4 separate regions of the Homo sapiens genome follow, and regions 2, 3 and 4 are each linked to region 1. Evidence: promoter capture Hi-C in 16 types of primary human blood cells and fetal thymus (Javierre and others, 2016). All regions are on one chromosome and are shown on one strand. The core of a region is centred on a gene start or on the middle of the fragment in contact, and the rest is flanking DNA. Distances in the headings are between cores, read along the strand shown. Region 1 holds the start of PLEKHH1 (pleckstrin homology, MyTH4 and FERM domain containing H1). Region 2 has its middle 9.7 kb from the start of MIR5694. Region 3 has its middle 6.5 kb from the start of MIR5694. Region 4 overlaps LOC105370542 (a long non-coding RNA gene).

Region 1 (4,097 bases), core at 568-3,067:
CAAACTCATTGAAAGTAACAACTGAGCTGAAAAAAATGTGGAGTCTCTTCTGCCCTCTACAGAAGTAACCAGCTATAGGGGAGAGCATGCTCCTCCCATTCCACTCTCCATGGTGCGTCTCTTTTCACTATATAACAAAGTTATATTAAATGAGTTCTGGGCCGAGGTGCGGTGGCTCATCCCTGTAATCCCAGCACTTTGGGAGGCCGAGGCAGGAGGATTTCTTGAGTCCAGGAGTTTGAGACCCCACCTCTACTAAAAAAAAAAAAAAATTTTTTTTTTTTTTTTTGCTGGGTATAGTAGCATGTGCCTATAGTCCCAGCTGTTCATGAGGCTGAGATGGGAGGATTGCTTGAGCCCAGGAGTTCAAGTTACAGTGAGCTATGATTGTGCCACTGCAATCCAGCCTGGAGAACAGAACAAGAAGAACCTATGTCCAAAAAAAAAAAAAAAAAAAAAGTGAATGAATGAATTAATGTCTTCTTAGCAAAATCCAGAGAACGTGTTTTTGGGCTTCCTTATGCAACTTCTGGAATGTTGAAGTGGATAGCCTGAGCATTGTCCCACAAAATGGGGCTAATCTATCCCAATCCCCACGAGCTATAAAGCTGTTTGCAAGTTCAGCCATTGAAGTCCCATTGGCCCAGTTAAATTCTCACGTTTGGCCTCCTGCACTACCAGCTTTCCTTAGTGTCTGGGCTCTCAAAACTTCTACGTGAGAATGGCCTGGGGTACTTTAGTTAGAGATTCAGATTCAAACCCAGGGTGGGGGTGTTCTTCATGGTGCCTGGGATGAGTCTTCCAAGGACCATTTGGAGAAACAGGCGCTGATGGTATTTTGCTTCTGTTCAGTCCTTCACTGACAGAGAGCCTGCAGGGTTGAGGAAGAAGGCTCTGTTTTGAAGTGTGGATCCCTCCCTGCAATGGTCTCTATTTGCATCTTCTTTACTCCAGGCTCACCTAGCCAAATGTTGAGTTTTCCAACCCCTCTGGGTATGAGATTGCTTTGGGCGATCTGAGATCTGCAAATGTCTGAGAACGAGGAGCACATGGGCACGCTGATGACTGCCCTGCAAACTGCCTGGCAGCCAGGGTCCTCCTGGGCCCTCCTTTAAAATAACATATACATAAGCCGGCCTGGAGGCCCAGGCGGGAAGATCACTTGAGCTCCGGAGTTCGAGTCCAGCCTGGGCAACATAGCGAGACCAGAAAATAAGCAAGTAAGTTACTCTCTGGGCTGTCGTAACTTATTTTTTCTTTTTCTCCTGCAAATTGCAACTCAGAACATTTGGTCTGCCAGACTGAAATATGGACTTCTGTTCCAAATATCCAGACGTTACAGTTCCCACAGGTGGCCAGGAGAATGCTGGAACCTTTGGCGGAGACGGTCTGGTCTTGTCCCGCAGCCCGCGAGGGTCCCCCGCTATTTGGGGTCAAGCAGATCCCCGGGGCGCTCTGGCCACCCCTTGCGGCAGCTGGTGCGGCCTCCTCGGAGAGCTCCGGGCCGGCGCCCGGGACACCCCGCCGCCCTCCCTGCCGCCCCAGGGACGAGCCCAGCGGTGCGGAGAAGTGGGAGGCTGGAGCCTGCTGAGGTCATTTCCTGTGCCTCTCCGCGAGCTGCCTGGAGAGCTGAGCCCAGCGCTCTGCCTTTAAGGAGCGGGCGGGGAGCCGAGGGGAGGAGGGCGCCCGGCGGAGCGTTGAATGGGGCGCAGCAAGGCTCGGCCGGGCTTTGTGCAGCGAGCCCGCGGGCACCCCTCCCGCTCCAGCCTCGCCCCGCCCCGCAGCCCACGACCCCTGCTGCCGGGGAGGGGAGAACCGGCGGCAGCCCGGGACTCCGGCGAGAGCGACGCAAGGTCGGCTGCGGCGGCGGCCCGAGGGCGCCCGTGTGCCCAGTGCGCGGCGGGGACGGCCGCGAGCTCGCTGGAGGTGAGCGACCCGCGCTCCCGCCGCTGTGGTGGGCTGGGGCTGCGCCGCGGCGGAGGGCGTCAGGCTGCGCGCGGGGGACGGCCCCTCGGGCCCAGAGGACGATCCGGAGCAGGTGCCTCCCTACCTGGAAGCGAGCTCCCAGCGGCGGGGAGCGCTGGAGCGCGGGTCTGGCTTGGGAAGCCGGGCGCCCCAGGGGACTCGCGCCGCGAGGCCAGGAGGAGCCTCCCCCGGGAGTACCTGGACTTGGGGATCGGTCAGATCCAGCCGCTCCTGGGAAGGGCCCTCGGAGCGGACGTGCAGGCTGCCACCTTGCTATCGGTGCTCGCTCCCTTTCACCCCTTCCCGCACCCCTCCCCATCTCACCTCAGGTTATTTCTTCTGTGATTTCTGAGTGTTGTCTTTGGGACCCTATGGCTCAGGCTCGACTCCTAGGAGCAGGTCATTCAAGCAGAAAAGAAAACAGGTTGGGCGCCGAATGACACAGAGCATTGTGTCCTAGGAGTCTTAGCGAGGACTCGGTCACCAGGAACCAGGGGCCTTAGTGGGGGTGGCAGAGGCGGTGAAGAGCCTCATCTGGAAGGAAACTCCTCTCCTTGTGGGATTTCTGCTTGCCAGGATATCTCCTCCATAGCTTTTACTATGAATCCACCTCATAAAACTCTTCCAAGACAGAGCCTTGGTTCAGGTAAAACACTTGAAAGACCATTTAAAAAATTCAGTGGGAGAATTATCAGTTCCTTCATCAAACTGTTTGGACTGTCTTCTATGTGACAGACACTGTGTATAGGGCTAGTACCATCACTGAACGCTTTATAGAACATCGGTATTAGTGTTTCTGCATATTATTGGCCCCATTTTTCCAAAGGAGGAAGCTGGGACTCTGAAAAGTTGTGATTTAGGCCAGTTGCAGTGGCTTATGCCTGTAATCCCAGCACTTTGGGAAGCCAAGGCAGGAGGAGAGCTTGATGCCAGGAGTTCAAGACCAGCCTGGGCAACATAGGGAGACCCTGTGTCTACAAATAAATAAAAATTTAAAAATTAGCTGGGTGTGGTGGTGTGGGCCTGTAGTCCCAGCTAACTTGGGAGGCTGATGATCCTGTCTGTTAAAAAAAAAATTGTTGTGATATGCCCATGGTCACATAGCTAAAAAGTGGAAGAGCCATAACTGAAACCCAAGCCTCCTAAATTCCTAACGTATGGTTCAGTCCACTTCTACCACCTTCCCATAGACTGCTGAGGGGGCCTGCTCAGAGTTGGGCAATTGTGGGGTGCAGCCTGTGGCCCCAAACTCATTGAAACTAACAACTAAGCTGAAAAAATGTGGAGCCTCTTCTGCCCTCTTCAGAAGTCACCAGCTGTAGGGGAGAGCATGTTCCTCCCATTCCTGATAGAAAAAAAAAAATCCAAAGAAATGTCTGGCAATTTAAAGTGTACATCATTTACCCCTAAATTCCATTTTCTGGGACTTTATCCTTCAGATATACTCTGATGTATATGAAATGGTGTACATCATTGAATATTCATTGCAGCATTGTTTAGCAAAAGGTTGGAAACAATCTAGATGTCCATCAATAAGGAACCCTTCAATAAGATCATGTAAAAGCCACACGATAGGATACATTAAAGCTGTTATAAAGCGTGCAGAGAAAATGTGGCAGATATATACTTTGATGTAGGAATATCTCTAAGTTATATTGTTGAGTACAGTGTGTATGGTGGGCCACGATTTTTGGGTGGGTGTGTGAATGCCACATACATATGAATGCCTGTAGATGCTCTGAATATCTCTGAGAGAACACACAGAAACCTGTAACAGTGGTTGCCGCTGGGGAGAACTATGGCTGAAGTACAGGCATGGGAAGAAGCCTTACTTTGCACTATATACCCTTTTGTTCAATGTTCTAAAATAACTTTAAAAATCATATGACCTCCTCTCCAGATCTCCAGAGTTAGATCTGGTAGTGAGCACATCTTTTTTTTTTTTTTTTTTTTTTTTTTTTGAGCCAGAGTCTCGCTCTGTTGCCCAGGCTGGAGTGCAGTGGTGCAATCTCAGCTCACTACAACCTCCGCCTCCAGGGTTCAAGCAGTTCACCTGCCTTAGCCTCCCAAGTGGCTGGGATTAACAGGCATGCGCCACCACACCTGGCTAATTTTTGTATTTTTAGTAGAGA
Region 2 (4,097 bases), core at 1,039-3,538, 100 kb before region 1:
TGGGACATGGAGACAGGCCACAATCACACATTCCAGTCCCCTCCACAAAACCACAGAGCTTGGATGACATGGACCCAGATTTCCCTGGGACAGAGCTTGAACCCTGTATACTCAGGTTCATCTATACAGAGTCAGGCTGGGAAGGGTAGATTATAGGGAATAACATACGGGCCTAGGGAGGAAAAATACCCACTGTAAGTTAGGAAGGATCCAGGCCTAGGGGACAAGGTGGCTCTTGTTCCTGTGCAAGCCTGTGCCGGACCCACGCCTGGTCCCCTGGAATGCCTGGGTGCTCTCAAGGGGAGGGCTGTATGGTAAAGCAGAAAGAGCCTTCCCACGTGGGCTCACGTGACTTTGCTATAAGCCCTCCATCCTAAGGAAAGAAGAAGCAGGAGTGCTTTCTCAACTGGCAGAGTGGTGACCGAGTGGAGTGTCACATCAACTGGTGTCAATGGCATCACGGGGATAAGATCTGGAGGAGGCAGGTGGCAACGGGGCCTGTGGAGTGGAGTCTTGGTGGAGGGGCTGGGCAGTGAGTGACCGGTGCAATATCAGGCGCTGCCCCAGGACATTGACTTGATGAAAGGCCCAGAGACCTCAGGACTTTGGAGGGCCTGCTCATCAGTAAGGGGCAGAGAGCTCCTCATTAAGTGGACCACAAAGCTTAACGTCCCATTCTGATCCCCTGAGGATTCTGTGATCAAAGCAGTCCCTTCCTGCTGTGACTTTGGTATGAGCATAAAGCCTCAAAGTGTGCAGGGCTGGGGATCGGGGCACCAGCTTCCCAAATACGCCTTTGTGTTTACATACAATCCTATAGGTGCCCCAACAACCTGGCAGGAGAGTCCCTATTCTCTCTAGATTTCAGAAAGACAAATCAAACCATGGGAAATCCATGGCAGGCATGAACAGCTAATTCTAGTTCACCAAATCTGGGCTAACAAGAGCAGATAAAAAGGGTTCAGCATAGGCTGGGCGTGGTGGCTCACGCCTGTAATCCCAGCACTTTGGGAGGCCGAGGCGGGTGGATCACGAGGTCAGGAGTTCGAGACCAGCCTGACCAACATAGTGAAACCCCATCTCTACTAAAAATACAAAAATTAGCTGGGCATGGTGGCGCTTGCCTGTATCCCAGCTACTCGGCAGGCTGAGGCAGGAGAATTGCTTGAACCTGGGAGGCGGAGGTTGCAGTGAGCCGAGATCGCGCCACTGCACTCCAGCCTGGGTGACAGAGTGAGACTCTGTCTCAAAAAAAAAAAAAAAAAAAAAAAAAAAAAACGGTTTAGTGTAATCCCAGCATTTTGGGAGGCCAAAGTAGGAGAATCGCTTGAGCCCAGGAGTTTGAGACCAGCCTGGGCAACATTATGAGACCCCATCCCTACCCAAAACATTTTAAAAATTAGCCCAGTGTTGTGGCACACATCTGTGGTCCCAGCTACTCTGGAGGCTGAGGTGGGAGGATCGCTTGAGCCCAGGAGGTCCAGGCTGCAGTGAGCTGAGATGCCACCATTGCACTCCAGCTGGGGTGACAGAGTGAGACCCCAACTCAACAACAGCAGCAGCAGCAGCAGCAGACCAAAACAGCGGCAAAAAAGGTTGGGGAAATGTGAGCTGGGTTGTGTCCCAGAAGCTCCCACATGGAAACTGGGGTGGGGGAAGGGAACAGAGGTTTCCGCAGGGGGCAGTCAGTGCCCATACTCTAGATGTCATCTTTGGGTGAGCTTGGAACTGGAGCACAATTTTATCTACTTTTTCTTCTTCATTTTGCATATTAAAATCTTTTAATAGGATAAAAAGCAAACATCTTTATTTAATGTGTTCATGTTGCGCTCACAGTGATTACCCTTAAATTTTTTAACATATTCTTTTCAATATGTACATGAAAATGTCACATAGAACAAAATGGAATATAGTGAGAAGTGTGTCTCTCCTGCCCCACAGGCAGCCACTATGAATTGGTAACATCTGCCCAGTGCTTTCCAGCTTAAAGAATGTGTGCTCATAAATTATCTCGTCGGATCCCAGCAACAACTCCCTAAGATATGTTGGCCCTAAATCATTATTGTCTCCACTTACAGATGGGAAATCCAGCTCCAAGAGGTTAAATGATCTGCCCAGAGTTAGGCATCTAAAGAATGGCAGGACCAAGATTTAGACCCTGGTGGTCAGAGCCCAACTTCTGAAGCCTTTGAATTACACCACACTGCCTTCCTTGGCGAACGAGCCCTGGTTCTTAGAACCTGGAATGTGCCATAAATAGTTCGCCTTCTGCAAAGAGAGACTTGCAGTTGGTCAGGAAACAGAAAAATATCTCCTGTCTTGAGTATTTACCTTCCAGAATGGACTGTTCATTCTCTGCTCTGAGACACGTTTACAAGGACACCTCTCTTCTGTGTTTTAGAGCATCGTACCTTTAAAAGTCAGCAGCGGGCAAGCTCTCAGGACAGACTATGTGAAGAGCCTGGTGTTCTAGGGCTGCCATGACAAATTGCCACAAACTGTGGGGCTGAAATAAACAGAAATGTATTCTCTCATGTTCAGGAGGACAGAAGTCCGAAACCAAGGTGTTGGCAGAGTTGGTTCTTTCTGGAAGCTCTGAGGGAGAATCTCGGGCTTCTCTGCTGCCTTATGGTGGTTGCCGGCAACCTGGGTGGTCCTGGGTTTGTAGGGGCATCACTCCAATCTCTGTTTTGGTGGTCGCATGTGGTGTTTTCCCTGTCTGTGTGTCTTTGTTTTCTCTTTTATAAAGTTCCCAGTCATTTGATTTAGGGCCCACCCTCATCTAGGTATGACCTCATTTTAAGTAATTATGTCTGCAGAGACCCTGTTTCCACATAAGGTCACATTCTGAGCTTCTTGTTGAGCTTGAATGTTAAGGAGACACCATTCAACGTAGTCCTCTCTGTTTTTCTGTTTTGTTCAATAAATAGGGAGGGCACTTTTAGAACATTCTGACTCTTCCTTAACCAGCCATGTCCCAACCCAGGAAGTTGATGCCCATCTTACAAGGAGGGCCAGAAAAAGGGAACAAGGCACACAGAGGTATCCTCAGAGCTGATGGATGGCTGCTGGCAGATGCCCAGAAACAGGTGCTGGGCCTGGAGGGTGGAAGTATATACCATGGTAGCTACATGGTTTGGTGTCAAAATACTTGTATTTTAGTGAGCATGAGAATGAGAGTAAGAGTGGGACAGAGAGAAGAGAAAAGGGAGGGAGAAAGATGGCTTATTCACACACAAAAATTTAGTGGTTCAGAATTAATTTAACTTGGAATAAATGATTTTTTTTTCAAAGAAAATTTTAAAGTTGGAGGTATAGAGGAAAACGTGAAAGAATACAGAGATGTACTTTGATCCTAATTGTGAAGTCTAAATAGTTAAAACTAAAATGGAATATAAAGACAAATGAGACGCATCCTATAATTCAACAACAACAACAACAACAAACCCATTAAAACTCATCGGGAGTATGAATGGACAAAATATCAAAAAAATTTTTGTGGGGGAAAAAGAAGGAGGAGGGTAAACTTAAAAAAGCAGTCATCACTATATTTCACTGGGGTAAAGACAAGAAAAGTTGGCCAGGGTAATAGAAGAGACATACTCTACAGAAACAAATTCAAGCTATTTAAAGACTTGATATAAGATGAATAAGCATCAACACAATGCTACAAGAAAGAATCACTGTTTAACAAATATCGTCTAAGTGGGTCATAAAAAGCCAGAGAAAATGGGAAAGCAAATGTGTTTCCACTGTGATGAGAAGAAAACATTTTGACTATTGATGAAATTAGATATCAGAGACAGGATGGACGGATCTAAATGTGTTTTTAAAAGCCTTTTGTGCCACAGAATGTAATAAAGCAAACACAAAAATGAAAGCCACAGATGGGGGAGAAATATATGTGGCAAATTAAGCTTTCTATCCAAAATAGCTAAAGAACAGATCTAACTATAAAAGGCCAGTATCCTGCTCCTTTTTGATAAGTACTCAAAGGAAATGAGCAGAGAGTTTACACACAATACTTCACATAGAAAAATAGGCAGCCCCACCATGTATCTTGAATTTGCAATTTCAGTGAATTTTATAATGTTATA
Region 3 (4,097 bases), core at 1,050-3,549, 85 kb before region 1:
GAATAACTATGAGTGTTGAATAAAGGAATATTTCAGGGAAGCCAACAGCCTCCAAATTACTCCTGCCCTGCCCCTGAGCCAGATGCATTCCATGAAACCAAAATCAGAGAAACAGAGTGATGAGGTGCTGACCTCCGGGTCAGCAGAGGCTGTGCTCCTGGTAGTTAGAAGGGTGTCCTGCCAAGCACGCCAGCCACTGCAGTCCTGGCTTCTCCCCAGAATGTCCTTTCCCAGGAGGGGCAGCACAGTCACCACCTACCCTTCTGATGAGCCATTAGGACACTGAAGCCCATTCAACGTGACATGGCGCAGAGCAGGGAGGGAGAGCCACTATGCTGGGTGACAGAATCAGGATTCAAAAATATGCCGCTGACTTGAAAGGTGGGCTGAAGCTAACAGGGTTATATTTAATAGGGAGAAATGAGGATCCTAAGCTCAGATCCAAAAAGATCAACTAGACCAGGGGTTGGCGAACTACCAGCTGCAGCCTGCTGCCTGTCTTTGTAAAAGAAAGTTTTTTTTTTTGGATCACAGCCACGTCCATTTGTTTGTAGGCTCTCTATGGCTGCTTTTACGCTGCAGTGGCAGGGTTGGGTAGTCACACAGGGACTACAGAGCCTAAAATATTTACTGCCTGGCTGGCCCCTAAATTAGATAAGGAAGTCCATATGGGGAGTGTCTTAGTCTGTTTACACTGCTTTAATGAAATACCACAAACTAGGTGGTTTATAAACAACAGAAATTTATTTCTCACAGTTCTGGAGACTGAGAAGGACAAGATTGAGGTATCGGCAGGTTCAGTGTCTGGCAAGGGCTCACTTCCTGGTTCAAAGATAGCACCTTCTGCTGTGTCCTTACATGGTGAGATGAGGGGATCTCTCTCAGGCCTAATTCACAAGGGCACTAATCTCATTCTCAAATATTCCACCCTCATGACCTAATCACCTCCCCAAGCCCCACTTCCTAATACCATCAGCTTGGAGGTTAAAGTTTAAACATAAATTTGGGGGGAACACAAACATTCACACTATAGCAGGAAGATTTGAATTTAAAGCAATTCAAGTGAAAAAGATAAAGAAAAAAAGAAGATGAAAGATTATTATTTAGCTTGCATTAATAGCATTATGATAGTAAGACAAAGACTGTGTTAGATAGGTAGGTCTCTTTTAGATGTAGGTGATGAAAAGTAATAGAAAACTAGCTCAGCACAGGAGGGATATATTGGGAGGGTGACCAGGAGAAGGCAGATGAGCCTCAGGACCACTTCTCCTATAGCCACTTCTCGCTTGGTACAGACCGGCTTCTGTGAGTGGCAAAAAAATGGCTATGGCAAGGTTCTCGTCACTAGTTTGCTCCTTTTCACCAATCTTGGTCTTTTCTATTTTTTCTCAGCACATGGAAAGATGATATGTCCTAGCCTGCCCTACAGTTAAGTGAGGCTATGGATTGAAATCTGGCGAATGTGGGTGGAAGTGAGCTGCATCACTTTCAGACAGTGGCCATTAGAGCTGGGGAGGCTTCTTCATGCCCTCGCCCACCCCTTCATTCCTTCCACTCTCTACCTTGCATCTGGAAGTGAAAGAGTAAGATGACAAAGCTTCAGAATAGCAGGATCTTAGATCCCTGAATCACCACTTGGGGGAGAGCTTCCCAGGAAACCTGCCGAACCCCATCAAATTTTGCATGAGAAAGAAATACGTTTTTATTGGATTAAGCCACTAACATTTCAGGTTTGATTCATTTCTTACCATAGCCCATTCTTTTTTTTTTTTTTTTTTTTTTTTTTTTTTTTTTTTGAGACGGAGTCTTGCTCTGTCACCCAGGCTGGAGTGCAATACTGCAATCTCGGCTCACTGCAACCTCCACCTCCCAGGTTCAAGCGATTCTCCTGCCTCAGCCTCCTGAGTAGCTGGGATTACAGGTGTGTGCCACCATGCCTGGCTAATTTTTTTTGTATTTTTAGTAGAGACAGGGTTTCACCATGTTAATCAGGATGGATATCATAGCCCATTCTATATTGATCAATGTAGCTACCAATTGCTGTTGAATTGTATATTTTACCATTTCAGTCACCAGAGAGGTATTCAAAAACAAACATCCCTATAAATGAATTGATTGGAGCAGCTTAAATTTGGTGCCAACCTCTTAGCCAACCAGCTGGCCTTGGGAACAGAATCATAGGTGAGTGTGGCAGCCCCTACAAGGACTGCATGGGTGAAGTTTGGGGAAGGGGGATGGTTTGCAGTTTCCAGAAGGAAGCCTGGAGGGATGGTGGGGGGCTGTGGAGGGGAGAGAGAGCAAAGGGAGACTACAGACAATAATGCTGCCCTACTGATCACAAACACTTCAGTGTCACGCTCTCAGCATAGTATTTTAAATGGAATCCTGAGTCAGGATTCCTGACAAATCCATTAGAACAGACTGGAAACAGAGGGAGTAGGGCAATGAGGAAAAGGCCTTAAGAAGCCTTAAAGAACCTTGACCTAAGAGGTAGAATTGGAGGAAGTGGGGCTATTTAATCTTGAAAATAGAAGACTTGGCAGGAACACAGTGATTCTCTTCATGGCTGTGAAAGACCATCCCATGAGGGGAATACTGTGACACTCCAAAGGGCCAAACTAGGCGTGGAAGGTGTCACGACAGAAAAGTCAGATTGTAGCCCAACTTCAGGAGGAGCTTCTGTCCATGATAGCCAACCAGGAAGGGCCCAGACCCTTTTAGGAAGGGAGAAGCTGGCATCATGAGGACACACCAGCCAATTCTGCTCAGACTGCTGAAGATGGGATTCCTGCATTTTTGGACTGCTTGTTCTATCTGCACATTCCTCTCCAATACTAAGAGTCTGAAAATTAACTTAAATTGGTCATTCAGTCTGGCCAAGAGGATCCAGGAGGTGCTAACTGCAGCCGAGGCCAAATGAGCTCTACTGTGAAGGAGGATAGAGGCTGCATTGGATATGATCCACTTGTCCAGAAGCCAGCCTCTGCCCTCTCAGAGCCCAGAAGCTTTAGAAGAGGGTTGTGGTAGGCACTCGGGAGGGCCTGGGAAAGATGCTCTTTCATGGCACTCTTGTCACTGATCCTTGAACCCAAGGCTAGAAGGCAGGGTGTGGGGAAGTGGGGTGGCAAGGAGGAGGGAGTCTCCTGACAATGGTCCCCTGTATCTTGTAGGCTGACAGGCAGGGACAACACACACTCAGAAACAATGCAGAGGCTCAGATAGTGCTATGTGGTATAGCATCAAGGCCTTCTCCCATCATTTGCCAGTTGAGGCCTAATATGGTTTGGCTCTGTGTTCCCACCCAAATCTCATCTTGTAGCTCCCATAATTCCCATGTATTGTGGGAGGAACCCAGTGGGAGATGACTGAATCATGGGGGTGGGTATTTCTCGTGCTGTTCTTGTGATAGTGAATGGGTCTCACGAGATCTGATGGTTTTAAAAAATAGGAGTTTTGGCCCAGTGCGGTGGCTCATGCCTGTAATCCCAGCACTTTGGGAGGCAGGCAGATCACCTGATTTCAGGGGTTTGAGACCAGCCTGACCAATATGGAGAAACCCCTTGTGGAGGCACATACCTGTAATCTCAGCTACTTGGGAGGCTGAGGCAGGAGAATTGCTTGAACCCGGGAGGCAGAGGTTGCAGTGAGCTGAGATCGTGCCATTGCACTCCAGCCTGGGCAACAAGAGCAAAAACTCTGTCTCAAACAAACAAACAAACAAACAAAACGGGAGATGTTCTGCACAATCTCTTTTTTTTTTTTTGCCTGCTGCCGTCCATGTAAGATGTGACTTGCTTCTCCTTGCCTTCCGCCATGATTGTGAGGCGTTCCCAGCCATATGGAACTGTAAGTCATTAAACCTCTTTCTTTTGTAAATTGCCCAGTCTCAGGTATGTCTTTATCAGCAGCATGAAAATGGACTAAATACAGTAAATTGGTACCAGTAGAGTGGGGCACTGCTGAAAAGATACCCAAAAATGTGGAAGTGACTTTGGAACTGGGTAACAGGCAGAGGTTGGAACAGTCTGGAGGGCTCAGAAGAAGACAGAAAAATGAGGGAAAGTTTGGAACTTCCTAGAGACTTGTTGAATGGCTTT
Region 4 (4,097 bases), core at 914-3,413, 68 kb before region 1:
CCATTTTAAGATGTTTGCTGGAGCTGGGCGCGGTGGCTCACGCCTGTAATCCCAGCACTTTGGGAGGCTGAGGCGGGTGGATCACAAGGTCAGGAGATCGAGACCATCCTGACTAACACGATGAAACCTTGTCTCTACTAAAAATACAAAAAATTAACTGGGCGTGGCGGCACGCGCCTGTAGTCCCAGCTACTAGGGAGGCTGAGGCAGGAGAATCGCTTGAACCTGGGAGGCGGAGGTTGCAGTGAGCCAAGATTGCGCCACTGCACTCTAGCCTGGGAGACAGAGTGAGACTCCGTCTCAAAAAAAAAAAAAAAAAAAAAAAAAAGATTGCTGTGCCGAGCTAGCATCTAATGCTGGCTGCTCTAGACCATCAGCAGAGTTAACTTTTGCACTCAGCCTAGGGGGAGGCTAGAATGTGCTCCCAGTGAACTCAACTAACTACATCTGAGCTAAATACACCAAACTAAGTCTCAGAGAGGCTCAGTCTCTTGTCCAAAGTCATATAGACAGTAAGCGGTAGAGACAGGGTTAGAACAAAAGTCTGTCTGAGTCAATACCTCTGCTACATCTTCCCTACCTTTGCCCTACTCTGGGAAGGTCCAATACTGCCAACAACCTTGAGACTCCAAGGATCTGTGGGACTTGAGCTCCCAGGTAGCTTCAGGAGGGCCTCAACAGGCCCAGCTCACAGAGGTTAGTGTGCATGAGGTGGCGCAGGGTGTGTGTATGTGTGAGAGTGTGTGTGTGTGTGTATGTGAGACAGAGAGAAAGAGAGCAGCCCTGCACCTGCACCACCTGGCCTGGTGCAATCTACCCCAGGGTAGGAGTGCTTATGTAGTAGGTACAGAGAAAGTTTTGCCAAAACAAAACAGATCCATATTTCCAGTCCCGCTGACCGCAATCCATGACCTCTGAGAGAACAGGATGGAGGCTAAGGGTACCTGGGACCCCAGGCTCTCCCTGCAGCCTCCCCTGGCCTGTGCCCCCATCCTCAGAATGGGGTTTCCTGGAAGGGGCTGGGTGAGGCCCCACAGGTCTTCCTTAAAAGCACTCCATCACCCTCTGTCCATCACATCCATCACCCTCTGTCCCCCTGCCCCCACCCTCCAGAGCCCTACAGGCTCTGACCCCTGCCTGCTTCTCTCACCTGCATCCTGTACTCCTCCTCACCCTCGCCCCCACCACGCAGCAGCCACACCAGCCTTTTATCTGTACCTCAAACTCTTCGAGCTCATTCGCATCTTTGCCTCTTGTACCAGCTGTTTCCTCTGCACAAAACACTCTCCCTGCACCTTCACAGGGGGACTGTCATCACGATCCAGGCTTCAGACTAAATAGCATCTCTTCTGGCAGACCTTTTGGGGCTACCCAGTCTAGAGAAGCTCCCTATTCATTTGCACACCACCCTGTTTTAATTGTATCACGATCTGTTATTTTCGCAAGTTCTGTTCTCTGTGTGTTCTCAGCCTTCACACATGCTGTGCTTTCAACCTGGAGTGCCTGCTCTTCACCTCACCTCAAGCTTCACCCCCTGTCCTGGCTAAATCAGACACAGAAATATTTCCTGATCTCCCCTTCTAGATCTGGGTTAATCCCTCTTTCCCTAACAGTGAGCCATCGGAGTTGTCGGCACCCTGTAATTCCACTGAAGTCATCCTACAGCAAGGACACAGGAATCTGTCTTGCTCCCTGCTGTGCCACAGGCCTAGCGCAGGGAGGTCCTGGTGCACAGCAGGTGAATGGATGACCAAAGTCAGCTGCGTTGACAACACTGGAAGAATGTAGCCACTCTGCTGGTGACCGGCACACAGAGGGCTTCCAGGCGCCAGGACTGGGTTTGTAAACTGAAGGCAGAGCGAGGGGAAGCTCCACGGAGATAGAAACCAATGTTGCCAGCTTTAAGTGAGCTCATCAGTCTCCAGTTGGGCTAAGAGGAGAAAGAGTGTTCCAGGGAGAGGTAACATAGGGGCCGAAGGCCCAGAGGCAGTGAACGGGAGCTGCAGGGAGAACTACAAGTCAGTCTCCCTGGATGGCACAGGGCTGGGGCAGAGGCGAGAAATGAGGCCAAACCACAAAAGGTTTGTAAGCCTCGCTAAGGTGTCGAGCTTGATCCTTAGGGTAATGGGAAATCATTAAAGAGTCTGAAGTAGGGAGTGAAATGGTCAGATCTGCATCTAAACAGAAACTTCACAACAGGTACAGGTATATCTTGGGATGCCTAAATCCTTGCGTTCCCTCCCAGATGACCACACACTGTGCTTCCAGCTTTCACTCCTCATGGAATTCCTAAGTGGGTACAAAATGCAAGGGCTTCAGCAGAAATCTGCTTCTCGACCCCTATACTGGGTTGAATGGTGGCCCACCAAAAAGATGTAGCCACGTCCAAGCCCCCTGAAGCTGTGAATGTTACCTTATTTTGAAAAGGGGTCTTTGCAGTTGTAATTAAGGATCTTAAGATGAGATCATCCTGGATTACCCGGGTGGGCCCTACATGCAATGGTAAGTGTCTTTTTAAGAGACAGAAGAGGAGGAGGCCATGTGACCACAGTGGCAGAAATGGGAGTGATGCTGCCACAAGCCTAGGAAGCCAAGGATTGCCGGCAGCCACCAGAGACTGGAAGAGGCAAGGCCAGATCCTCCCCTAAAGCCTCAGAGGAGATGCAGCCTGCTGATGCCTTGATTTGACTTCTGCCTTCCAGAAGTGTGACAGAACACAGTTCCATTGTTTAGAGCTACTCATTTTGTGGTAATTTGTTACAGCAGTCCTAGGACACTGATACAACCCCATACTTTAACTAAGAAGCTTCAGCCCCAGGACCCTTCGCCATCTGGTGGACCCTTCTAAACCAGAAAACTTCCTTTCTGTTTGGAAGCTGTAATTGTGACAGAGGCAAAGAGCCAGACCATATCATCTGCGGATCTCCTTCTCTGTAATGTTTGGCACTAAAAGGCTACCTTTGCCCAAACCAAGAAAGTGTATTACCAGAATGAAACAATGGGTGGATCAGTGGAGCTGGGTCTTTGGCCAAGGCCGGAAGACTCTAAGAGGGAAATGCTGGCAGGGCTCTGCAGGGATTAATGGTTTGGAAAGAGGGAGGAGGACAGTGAGCTGCTCTATGGTGGTGGGCACAGAAATGGCATGGATGGTTGTTGTCTAAATAGATTCCTAGCTTCAAGTTCCCAAAAGAGCCTGGGAACTGGTGTTCTGGAACACTCAGCCTGGCCTTTAGGGTGGGTTCACTAAGACTCCACTTGTCAAGAGTTTCTTAAAGCACTCACTACGTGCTTCCTTTGTTCGGCACTGTACCCAGCTAGGCACCTTGCAGGGCACAGTAAATGTCTGCACTTCTGGACAATAAGATTCCAGCCTGGGCCAGGCACAGTGGCTCACCCCTGTAATCTCAACATGTTGGGAGGCCAAGGCAGGTGGATCACCTGAGGTCAGGAGCTCAAGACTAGCCTGGCCAACATGGCAAAACCCCATCTCTATTAAAAATACAAAATAATTAGCCGAGCATGGTGGCACGGGCCTGTAATCCCAGCTACTCAGGAGGCTGAGGCAGGAGAATCACCTGAACCCGGGAGGTGGAGGTTGCAGTGAGCCGAGATCGCGCCACTGCACTCCAGCCTGGGCGACAGAGGGGGACCCAATCTCAAAAAAAAAAAAAAAAAAAAAAGACTCCAGCCTATCTCTGAAAGTATCAGTAATCAACCTATCAACCTTTGAGTGTGTGAAAAGTGTCTCTTCCTGGAAGAATCCTTACCCAACCCCGTAGACAGCCAGGGTCCTCTGTTAGAGCTTCTTTTCTGGAGGATTGGTCAACGTTGTAATGTTATGGGCTTCCCTTCAACATCTTCAGCATCACAGGAACTAGCCTGGTCCTTGGCTCACTGCAGGTATCTAATAAGGAGTTGATGAGTTAAACAGGTCAGTTCTCAGTCCTATCTGGGTTTTCAGAAGGCACCAGCAGAAGGTTCTTATCTTGTTAGGAGAAAGGTTTCAGCTGGTAGTTTCAAACACTCTGAAGGTACTGACAGCCAGGGGCCCAGGTTTCATGCCAAGACAAGGAAATAGGATGAAAGAGAAAAGGCCC

Evidence for each region. The method cuts DNA at HindIII sites, captures the fragments that hold promoters and counts their contacts. A CHiCAGO score of 5 or more calls a contact.
Region 2: a fragment that was not itself captured here is called in contact with the fragment with the promoter of PLEKHH1 in region 1 in 16 of 17 cell types (naive B cells, total B cells, M2 macrophages and 13 more); the score reaches 14.3 in naive B cells.
Region 3: a contact is called between a fragment that was not itself captured here and the fragment with the promoter of PLEKHH1 in region 1, in 3 of 17 cell types (M1 macrophages, naive CD8 T cells and M0 macrophages). The highest score is 5.9, in M1 macrophages.
Region 4: a fragment that was not itself captured here is called in contact with the fragment with the promoter of PLEKHH1 in region 1 in 7 of 17 cell types (M0 macrophages, naive CD4 T cells, M1 macrophages and 4 more); the score reaches 6.5 in M0 macrophages.

What each region holds. Positions count from the first base shown.
Region 1 is chr14:67,531,473-67,535,569 of GRCh38, forward strand. It overlaps PLEKHH1 (pleckstrin homology, MyTH4 and FERM domain containing H1), which reads left to right and starts at 1,818. Exons shown (of 29, transcript NM_020715.3): 1 at 1,818-1,926. It also overlaps a transcript of GPHN not described here and a transcript of TMEM229B not described here. RefSeq lists a silencer at 1,442-1,911. The HindIII fragment of the contact is 32,076 bases long and covers 1-4,097 here.
Region 2 is chr14:67,430,144-67,434,240 of GRCh38, forward strand. It overlaps a transcript of GPHN not described here. Among named protein-coding and RNA genes, the nearest start is that of MIR5694, 9.7 kb to the right of the region's middle. The HindIII fragment of the contact is 3,254 bases long and covers 662-3,915 here.
Region 3 is chr14:67,446,361-67,450,457 of GRCh38, forward strand. It overlaps a transcript of GPHN not described here. Among named protein-coding and RNA genes, the nearest start is that of MIR5694, 6.5 kb to the left of the region's middle. The HindIII fragment of the contact is 1,408 bases long and covers 1,596-3,003 here.
Region 4 is chr14:67,463,337-67,467,433 of GRCh38, forward strand. LOC105370542 (a long non-coding RNA gene) reads right to left here. Exons shown (of 3, transcript XR_007064213.1): 2 at 1-4,097. It also overlaps a transcript of GPHN not described here. Among named protein-coding and RNA genes, the nearest start is that of TMEM229B, 23 kb to the right of the region's middle. The HindIII fragment of the contact is 1,281 bases long and covers 1,524-2,804 here.